2 separate regions of the Homo sapiens genome follow, and region 1 is linked to region 2. The links are contacts of gene promoters, found by promoter capture Hi-C in human tissues and cell types (Jung and others, 2019). All regions are on one chromosome and are shown on one strand. The core of a region is centred on a gene start or on the middle of the fragment in contact, and the rest is flanking DNA. Distances in the headings are between cores, read along the strand shown.

The links. Contacts are between HindIII fragments. The study calls those that stand out against the background at their distance.
Region 1: the fragment with the promoter of ZNF121 here is called in contact with the fragment with the promoter of OR7G1 in region 2 in 2 of the 25 tissues and cell types used here (adrenal gland and aorta).

What each region holds. Positions count from the first base shown.
Region 1 is chr19:9,583,040-9,588,452 of GRCh38, reverse strand. It overlaps ZNF121 (zinc finger protein 121), which reads left to right and starts at 3,949. Exons shown (of 4, transcript NM_001008727.5): 1 at 3,949-3,992. RefSeq lists enhancers at 3,559-4,370, 5,185-5,413. The HindIII fragment of the contact is 2,529 bases long and covers 2,529-5,057 here.
Region 2 is chr19:9,114,431-9,119,215 of GRCh38, reverse strand. OR7G1 (olfactory receptor family 7 subfamily G member 1) reads left to right here and starts at 3,453. Exons shown (of 1, transcript NM_001005192.2): 1 at 3,453-4,388. The coding sequence starts at 3,453. The coding sequence ends at 4,388. The HindIII fragment of the contact is 5,916 bases long and covers 1-4,590 here.

The sequences.
Region 1 (5,413 bases), core at 2,700-5,199, 470 kb before region 2:
TTACAGAATGGCTAGAAAAGTGGTTCGGTAAATGGAAAGGAATAATAGCCTCAATTCTCACCTCCCTTGTAGCCGTAATGGGTGTACTTATCCTTGTCAGGTGCCGTGTCATACCATGCATCTGTAGGTTGGTGCAGAGGCTCATAGAAATGGCACTTACTAAAACCTCCTTTAACTATCCTCCACCTTATCCAGAGAAGCTCCTTCTTTTGGAAAATCAAGCAGAACAACTAAGTCAAGACATGTTAAATAAGTTTGAAGAGAAAGCCATAAAAAAAATGCAAGAGGAGGAAGTTGTTGAAAATGAATTATAAATTTCTCTTCAAAGAATTAATATGTCAGTATGCTCAATTCTTTGCCTTCTACTTTTAAACTTAACTTCCTCATAAAGCACCCTTTTCCCAAACCGCTCACTCCATCACTCTCTTTAAATTAGTCAATCGGAATTAGTTTAGCCTGTGAGGTCCAACCCTAGCCAGTAGGGGAACGACAGAGCAGTAGGGACCACGTGTGTCAGGAATAAGAACCCCTTTCCCTCCCTTGTCCAGGTGTGTGCCCACCATTGCTCCATCTGTGAGAGTGCACCCTTCTATAGAAGTATCTTGCCTTGCTGAGAATTAAAAAGAAAATTTTATATTCAAGTGTTATTTCTTTTGTGGCACCAAAACTTTATATGTGACAGACTGGAAGTTCAAGAGCAGCCTGGGCAACATAGAGAGATCTCTTCTCTACCCAAAATATTTTTAAAAATTAGCTGGATGTGGTGGTGTACATATGTATTCCCTGGTACTTGGGCAGGAGGATTACTTGAGCTCACAAAGTAAAGGCTGCACTGAGCAATGATAACGCTACTACACTCCAGCCTGTGTGACAGAGTGAAACCCTGTCAAAAAGAAAAAAAAAAAGTAGAATGTGATTTTAAACATCAGAACTAAACAGAATGATATGCTCAGAGAGGTTTCCCTATCCCTATCCTCTCCATTTTGTTCTTATCCCACCATTCTGTTCAAGCCCTTCCCATCTATCCCCGATAGATTCTGAATCTTATTATTTTCAGGATAGTCCTATCAGTGTTTCCCTGTACTCAGAATGAACAGATAATTACATATTTTATTTTTATTTTTTTGAGACTGAGTCTCACTCTATCGCCCAGGCTGGAGTGCAATGGCGCGATCTTGGCTCAATACAACCGCCGCTTCCCGGGTATAAGCAATTCTCCTGCCTCATCCTCCCGAGTAGCTGGGATTACAGGCGCCCGCCACCATGCCCGGCTAATTTTTGTATTTTTAGTAGAGGCGGAGTTTCACCATGTTGGCCAGACTTGTCCTTCAGAACTTTTTAACTGGAAGATATGCTGCCAGGCTGCTGAGCATCGTCACTTAGTCATATAAGCCCCCTCTTTGATTCCCCTTCTCCTCTGGGAGTCTTTCTTCCTTTCCACCCTTTCTGAGCAGCGACCCACAGGTAGAAGCCTGTGGATATTCTCTTGCTGTTTGCTACCTCCCGCCACTCCTTACCTGTCAAAGCACATCCCAAATGAAGCTTGTGTGCTACTGCCGCCTTGTGGTCACGTCTTTTTCCTTACTCAGCCAAGAAATCACTTACACCCTGAATGCGTATATGGTTTTATTTTTCACATTTAGATCCCTAGTCCATTTAGAGTTTATTCTTGTATATGCTGTGAAGTATGGATTTAATTTCATCTTTTCTCTGATGGCTACCCAGCTGTCTTAGACTTTCCATTACAAATGGCTTTTTTTGCCTCATTGATCTGAAATACCTTTTTTTTTTTTTTTTGAGATGGATTTTCACTCTTGTTGCCCAGGCTGGAGTCCAGTGGCGCGATCTCGGCTCACTGCAACCTCTGCCTTCTGGGTTTCAGCGATTCTCCTGCCTCAGCCTCCCGAATAGCTGGGATTACAGAAAGCCCACCACCATGCTTGGCTAATTTTATTTTTGTATTTTTATTAGAGACAGGGTTTCACCATGTTGGACAGGCTGGTTTCGAACTCCTGACTTCAGGTGATCCTCCCGCCTCAGCCTCCCAAATTGCTAGGATTACAGGTATGAGCCACCGCGCCTGGCAAAATACCACATTTATGAACCAAATTCCTACATGTTCTTGGGTCTGTTTTTAGATATTTTATTAGTCTGTTTCTGCTTCATGTGCTAGTACCACATAGTTTTAATTATAGAGGCTTTATAGTATGTCTTATTTATTTTTATTTTAATATAATTTAATTATTTGCCTTGTGTGAAAACTGTTAATAGTATGTTTTAACATCTGCTGCTCATCATTGCTTTTGTTTTTGTTTTCTTGGTTATTATCAGATATTTATTCTTCCACATAAACTTTAGTATCAACGTACCTAACTCCAGAAAAAACTTTTAATATTTTTACTGGGATTATGTTACATTTCTGAATAAACCTGGGGAGAATGTCTGGTGTCAGTGCTATTTTACAATGTAGGAAATGTGGTCCTGGCCCATGTGGGAAGATCAGAAAAATAACAATAGAAATACATGTTTTTGGCCAGGCGTGGTGGCTCACATCTGTAATCCCAGCACTTTGGAAAGGTGAGGCAGGCGGATCATGAGGTCAGGAGTTCGAGACCAACTGGGCCAATATGGTGAAACCCTGTCTTTACTAAAAATACAAAAATTAGCCGGGCATGGCGGCGCCTGCCTGTAATCTCTGCTACTCAGGAGGCTGAGAGAGAAGAATCGCTTGAACCCGGGAGGCAGAGGTTGCAGTGAGCAAGATCGTGCCACTGCACTCCAGCCTGGGCAACAGAGCTAGACTCCATCTCAAAACAAAAACAAAAACATATTTAAAATTTTTTTTAAACAGAGACGGGGTCTTGCTGTATTGCCCAGGCTGGTCTCAAACTCCTGGCCTCAAACGATCCCTTGGCCTCCCAAATTGCTGGGATTATAGGCATAAGCCACCATACCCAGCCAGAAATACATACTTGATGAAGACAAAAAAAAATCAAGATTTACAGAAAATATTATTATATTGAAAACGTGGCCGGGTGCGGTGGCTCATGTCTATAATTCCAGCACTTTGGGAAGCTGAGGGAGACAGATCATTGGAGGTCAGGAGTTCGAGATCAGTCTGGCCATCATGGTGAAACTCTTCTCTACTAAAAGTACAAAAATTAGCTGGGCGTGGAGGCAGACATCTGTAATCCCAGCTACTCGGGAGGTTGAGGCAGGAGAATCACTTGAACCCGGGGGGCAGAGGTTACAGTGAGCCGAGGTCATGCCACTGCACTCCAGCCTGGGCAACAGAGTGAGATCTGTCTCAAAAAAAAATAAAAAATGAAAAAGAAAAACGAAAAAAGAAAACGCAATGGAACCAGCAGGTTCTAAAAAATAAAGAATGAAGAAATAAAGGCCTACAGAAAGCCTGACTGAATAGAAGAGATAGACCATGCCATTCACTGGCAGCTTTATCCATATGGAAGAATCATGGAAAGGCTCTAGGAACATGAGATGTATACAAACAAGCTTTATATATATGTATACACACATATATATTTTAATAAAGGATGTTGCTATTTTGCCCACGCTGGTCTTGAACTCTTGGACTCAAGCTATCCACCTGCCTTAGCCTCCCAAAGTGTTGGACTTACAGGCCTTAGCCACTGTGCCCACCTGGGAAAAGCTCTGCAGGAGCATCCCCTGGGGTGCGTCCCATCCCCCACGCCCGCCCTTCCAGCAGGTCCGGCCACCTGAACCGCCGGCTAGCCGGGTCCCACCTCTAAACCGCCCCCAAGTAAGGGCCTGTCCGCGCCCACCCGGGAAGAAACTACAATTTCTGTGTTTGACTGGGTCCTATGTGGCTGAAACTCGAACCCAGGAGCCCCGCCCGGCCCGAGGCTCGGAGCGGAAGTGACGTCAGCGCACAATCGCCATCTTTTCCGGCGCTGGCTCCGCATGGTCAGTGCCATTTCGCCTTTATCGTGGTGGAGTCCACCCTGGCTGTGGTGAGTTCCGCCTGCTTGGGGATCCCGGAGATAGCGGGGGGCGGCAAAGGAACGATTGGGTGCTGTCGCCCAGGAGCCTCTCCGATCCGCCTCGTTTCACTCTCTTCTCCAGGGGCTGTCGGTCCTCCTTGCGCGGCCAGTGGCTAGAGGCCGCAGGCTCAGTGGGTCCCAGTCAGGAGCCAGGTCGGGAAGTGTGTTTGTCCCGACTCCGCGCGTTTTCTGGAGTGGTTTCATCCGCTGTGCTCCCTTCTTCAAAAGCTTGGAAAGCAACCTTTGTGAGTTTCTTTCTTTCTGAAAGTAAAAGGATTTCTGCCGTTCCAGTCAGGTTGGCTCCGGCCCCGCATTTCCGCGCCTCAGGAACCTGGCGTTTCCGGCATGTTCCTGGTGAACACCTGCAGAAAATTGGTTTCAAGAGGGCTCTGACTTCCATTTCTTTGCTTAAAAATGTCTCGTCTGAGAATCTGGCATTGATGTCCTATTCTTATTTTTGACACATTACTTTCTGATGGAAAAAAAATAGTCGTTTAGGGTGTGCCTATATCTGCATGTAAATATGAACACGTGTAGACTGTGAGCCTTTAGTTTCTTATTTTATTTTCTTGGACTTAATGTTTTTTGTTGTTACCAGCTACAAGCCTTTCTACAAAAGAAAGGCAGGCTGGGCGCGCTGGCTCACGCCTGTAGTCCCAGCCATTTGGGAGGTCGAGGCGGGCAGATCACCTGAGGTCAGGAGTTCGAGACCAGCCTGGCCAACATGGTGAAACCCTGTCTCTACTAAAAATACAAAAAATTAGCCAGGCGCGATGGCGGGCGCCTGTAGTCCCAGCTACTCGGGAGGCTGAGGCAGGAGAATGGCGTGAACCCGGGAGGCGGAGCTTGCAGTGAGCCGAGATCGCGCCACTGCACTCCAGCCTGGGCAAAAGAGGGAGACTCCGTCTCACACACACAAAAAAAAAAAAAAAAAAAAAAAAGCCAGGCTTGGTGGCAGTCCCCTGTAATCCTAGCTACTTGGGAGGCTGAGGCAGGAGGATTGCTTGAACCTGAGAGGCCGAGGTTGCAGTGAGCCGAGATCTGCCACTGCACTCCAGCCTGGGCGATGAGAGCGAAACTCCGTCTCAAAAAAGAAAGAAAGGCAATAATACACAGCTGTTGTCTTTATCTGAAGTTCCTAGGTCTGTACCCCCCCACAGAGCTTCAAAACGGGCCCACAGGAAGAAAGGATGGAGGCTTTTGTTTGTTTTTTTCAGACGGAGTCTTGCTCTGTCGCCCAGGCTGGAGTGCAGTGGCGCGATCTCAGCTCACTGCAACCTCCACCTCCTGGGTTCAAGTGATTCTCCTGCCTCAGCCTCCGAGTAGCAGGGACAACAGGCATGGGGACCATGCCCAGCTAATTTTTTTTTTTTGTATTTTTAGTGGAGACA
Region 2 (4,785 bases), core at 2,204-4,703:
CACTTTGGGAGGCAGAGGTGGGTGGATCCCCTGAGGTCAGGAGTTCCAGACCAGCCTAACAAACATGGTGAAATCCCATCTCTACTAAAAATACAAAAATTAGCTGGGAGTGGTGGCAGGCGCCTGTAATCCCAGCTACTTGGGAGGCTGAGGCAGGAGAATCGCTTGAACCCAGGAGGCAGAGGTTGCAGTGAGCCGAGATTGCGCCACTGCACTCCAGGCTGGGTGAAAGAGCAAGACTCCATCTCAAAAAAAAAAAAAAAGAAAGAAAAAAAGAAAAGTGGATGATGTACACTTGGCCTCTAGGGTCAGGACAGCAGCCATCCTGAATTTCTCCCTTGTTCTGCAAGGATTTAAGCACCCTGGGATTACAGTGCCAACACAAATTCCTTGGCTAATGAGGAGCTTTGGCAATTGAGCCGCTAGGGAGGCAGAGACTACAATGTACCAGTGACCACCGCATTCATGAGCCACTGTGCCCAGCCAGAAGCTTTTATTTCTTATAAGAGAAAGAAACTCTGACTATAATTTACATGAATAAGAAACAGAGTTATTTTTTATGACAAGAACTTCAGGGGTAAGAAATGCATGGGAGCAGTAGTGTGGGGATTCATGCAAGCCTCGGGAAGATGGCTCCATGTCTGTGCTGATTTTCCTCTTGCAAACAGATGTCTGCAGAAATGTAGGCATCATATTCAGACATGGTGCTCAGAGAAAACCGACGGTCTTTCTGTAGGTCTGCTGTGAAGAGAGTCTATTTGTAATAGAAATTTTCTTTTTAAATTTTATTTTTATTTACTTGTTTATTAGAGACAGGGTCTCACTCTGTCACTCAGGCTGGAGTGCAGTGCCACGATCATGGCTCACTGCAGCCTTGAACTCCTGGGCCTCAGCGACCCTGAGTAGCTGGAACTACAAATGAGTGAGTGCCACCACACCTGGAGATATACATATATATATAATCCTCTATATGTATAATTATATGTATATTACACAAATATATTCTAATTGTATAATTTTAGGATTAGCTGTAGTCTCAGTGCTCCCGTGCAAAACTGTTTACTGTGTCTTCACTAGGAAGATTACTCTGTAGAGAAATACTTTCATTTGAGAAGGAGATGTCGAGTGTAAGACAAGACAGGAGAAAATGGAAGTTGGCAAGATTTTGGGGCATAATTTTTTTCTATAAGCACACACACACACACACACACACACACACGCAGGATCATCAGTCAGAATTATCTCTCTAAGTGTGAGGAGCAAACAATGGAGGTGTCAAAAGAGAATCAAAGGAGTGGGTGGAGAGTCTTCTGTTGCAGCTGTCTTTGGAGCTTGAGGAGCTGGCTTTATTTTCACCAAAATATCTGGGAAGCCAGGCATGGTGGCTCGTGGCTGTAGTCCCAGCTACTTGGGAGGCTGAAGCGTGAGGATTGCTTGAGGCCAGGAGTTTGAGACCAGCCTGGGCAACATGGCAAGATCCTGTCTCTAAAAAACCCCCAAAACAAAACAAAAAGCTCTTACATATCTGGAACGCAGCTCCTATTCTAGCACTCATAGAGTCTCCTAGGACTGAGATTCCTCTGTTGGTGTCCACAGAACAGACACAGAGAGGAACCACCCGAGACCTTTCCTCATAGAGAAGGTTCTTGGCCTTGCCCGAGAACTACTGGTGTTAAATCTCTGAGAAATGTGTGAGGTATGAGAATTTTTAATAAGCACTTGGAGAGATGCTGATAACCTCTGAAGCCTGACACTCCTAACTTTAATATTAGGAGAACATGAGAAAACATATTTAGGGTTAGAATATGAAGGGTCTTTCTTTAATCATACTTGTTACATTATCATATACAAAGTAATGCATAAAATCTATCTATCTGTAGGTAGTGTAGAGCACAGTGGCTCACGCCTGTAATCCCAGCACTTTGGGAGGCGGAGGTGGGCAGATCACAAGGTCAGGATATGGAGACCATCCTGGCTAACGCAGTGATACCCGTCTCTACTAAAAATACAAAAAATTAGCCGGCCGTGGTGGCGGGCGTCTGTAGTCCCAGCTACTCAGGAGGCTGAGGCAGGAGAATGGCGTGAACCTGGGAGGCGGAGCTTGCTGTGAGCCGAGATCGTGCCACTGCACTCCAACCTGGGCGACAGAACGAGACACTGTCTCAGGAAAAAAAAAAAAATCTATCTGTAATTCTGAGAGAATAGTAACATGATAAAACCGCATATACCTATCTGGCATTAAAAATAAGTTAATGTCATCACCATAGAACCTACCTGTAGGATTTTCTACTCAAATCACCTTGTTTTCTTCCAGCAACAAATACACTATCCTGAATTCTGTAGTTACCATTTTCTTTGAAAACAGGATGACTGTTATAAAATTCTCTGTAATTTACTTGCAGTCTTGTGGGGGAGAGGAGGTGAGCAGCTTGCTAAACTTCACCTTATCTTCACTTTCCTGTGGTGTTTTTTTTTTTTTTAATGGAGTTTTGCTCCGTTGCCCAGGCTGGAGTATAATGGCATGATCTCAGCTCACTGCAACCTCCGCCCCCTGGGTTCAAGCGATTCTCCTTTCCTGGTTCTTGACACAGCTTTGTATTATTTCTGTTGGCTGGCGTGAAGTCTCTGGGGGTCCAGACAGAGTCTTCCAGCCGTTTTCCTGGTATGTACTTTGTTTTATTTTATTTATTTTTTGTTTTTTCATTACCAAATATTTTTAATAATCAGAACAGCAGAGTGGTGGCACATGCCTGTAATCCCAGCTACTCAGGAGGCTGAGGAAGGAGAATCGCTTGAACCTGGGAGGCGGAGGTTGCAGTGAACCAAGTTTGTGCCACTGCACTCCAGCCTGGGCAACAAGAGCGAAACTCCATCTCAAAAAAAAAAAGATGAGGCTGGGCGTGGTGGCTCACGCCTGTAAACCCAGCATTTTGGGAAGCCAAGTTGGGCAGATCACTTGAGGCCAGGCATTTGAGAGCAGCCTGGCCAACATGGCAAAACCCCGTCTCTACTAAAAATACAAAAATTAGCCAGGTGTTGTGGCAAGCATCTTTAATCCCAGCTACTTGGGAGGCTCAGGCAGGAGAATTGCTTGAAACCAGGAGGCAGAGGTTGCAGTGAGCCAGGATCAAGCCACTGCACTCCAGCCTGGCCACAGAGCAAGACTCTGTCTCAAAAATAAATAAATAAATTTAAAAAATAAATAAATAAAAATAAAAAATGATGACCCCTTAACCATTTCCAGAATTAACAATTATTGATGCTGTGCTGTATTAGCTTCAAGTTTTGTAAAAGCAGTAAAGTAATATCAATACAAAAGGCAACACTTATTTATTTTCTTCCCTTAGAATCTACCCCTTTTCAAGATGGTGTTTGCCTCTGTTGACGTTGCTCCCGCAGTCTAGAAAACACATTTGATTGTCTAATTATCCCATTTTTTGATCATCAAAAACATGGGACCCAGAAACCAAACAGCTGTTTCAGAATTTCTTCTCATGAAAGTGACAGAGGACCCAGAACTGAAGTTAATCCCTTTCAGCCTGTTCCTGTCCATGTACCTGGTCACCATCCTGGGGAACCTGCTCATTCTCCTGGCTGTCATCTCTGACTCCCACCTCCACACCCCCATGTACTTCCTTCTCTTTAATCTCTCCTTTACTGACATCTGTTTAACCACAACCACAGTCCCAAAGATCCTAGTGAACATCCAAGCTCAGAATCAGAGTATCACTTACACAGGCTGCCTCACCCAGATCTGTCTTGTCTTGGTTTTTGCTGGCTTGGAAAGTTGCTTTCTTGCAGTCATGGCCTACGACCGCTATGTGGCCATTTGCCACCCACTGAGGTACACAGTCCTCATGAATGTCCATTTCTGGGGCTTGCTGATTCTTCTCTCCATGTTCATGAGCACTATGGATGCCCTGGTTCAGAGTCTGATGGTATTGCAGCTGTCCTTCTGCAAAAACGTTGAAATCCCTTTGTTCTTCTGTGAAGTCGTTCAGGTCATCAAGCTCGCCTGTTCTGACACCCTCATCAACAACATCCTCATATATTTTGCAAGTAGTGTATTTGGTGCAATTCCTCTCTCTGGAATAATTTTCTCTTATTCTCAAATAGTCACCTCTGTTCTGAGAATGCCATCAGCAAGAGGAAAGTATAAAGCGTTTTCCACCTGTGGCTGTCACCTCTCTGTTTTTTCCTTGTTCTATGGGACAGCTTTTGGGGTGTACATTAGTTCTGCTGTTGCTGAGTCTTCCCGAATTACTGCTGTGGCTTCAGTGATGTACACTGTGGTCCCTCAAATGATGAACCCCTTCATCTACAGCCTGAGAAATAAGGAGATGAAGAAAGCTTTGAGGAAACTTATTGGTAGGCTGTTTCCTTTTTAGCGATCTTTGTCCTCTGCTTTGAATTGGAGCTTCTAAAATAAATCATCATAACAGGATTCCTTGGTAAGCCAGAGTGCCTGACTCTTGCATCGAGATTTACTTTTTTTTTTTTTTTTCGAGGCAGAATCTCGCTCTGTCGCCCAGGCTGGAGTACAGTGGCACGATCTCGGCTCACTGCAAACTCCGCCTCCCGGGTTCATGCAATTCTCCTGCCTCGGCCTCCCGAGTAGCTGGGATTACAGGCACACACCACCACACCTGGATTTTTTTTGTATTTTTAGTAGAGATGGGGTTTCACCAGGTTGGCCAGGGTGGTCTCGAACTCCTGACTTCAGGTAATCCACCCACCTCGGCCTCCCAAAGTGCTGGGATTACAGGCATGAGCCACTATGCCTGA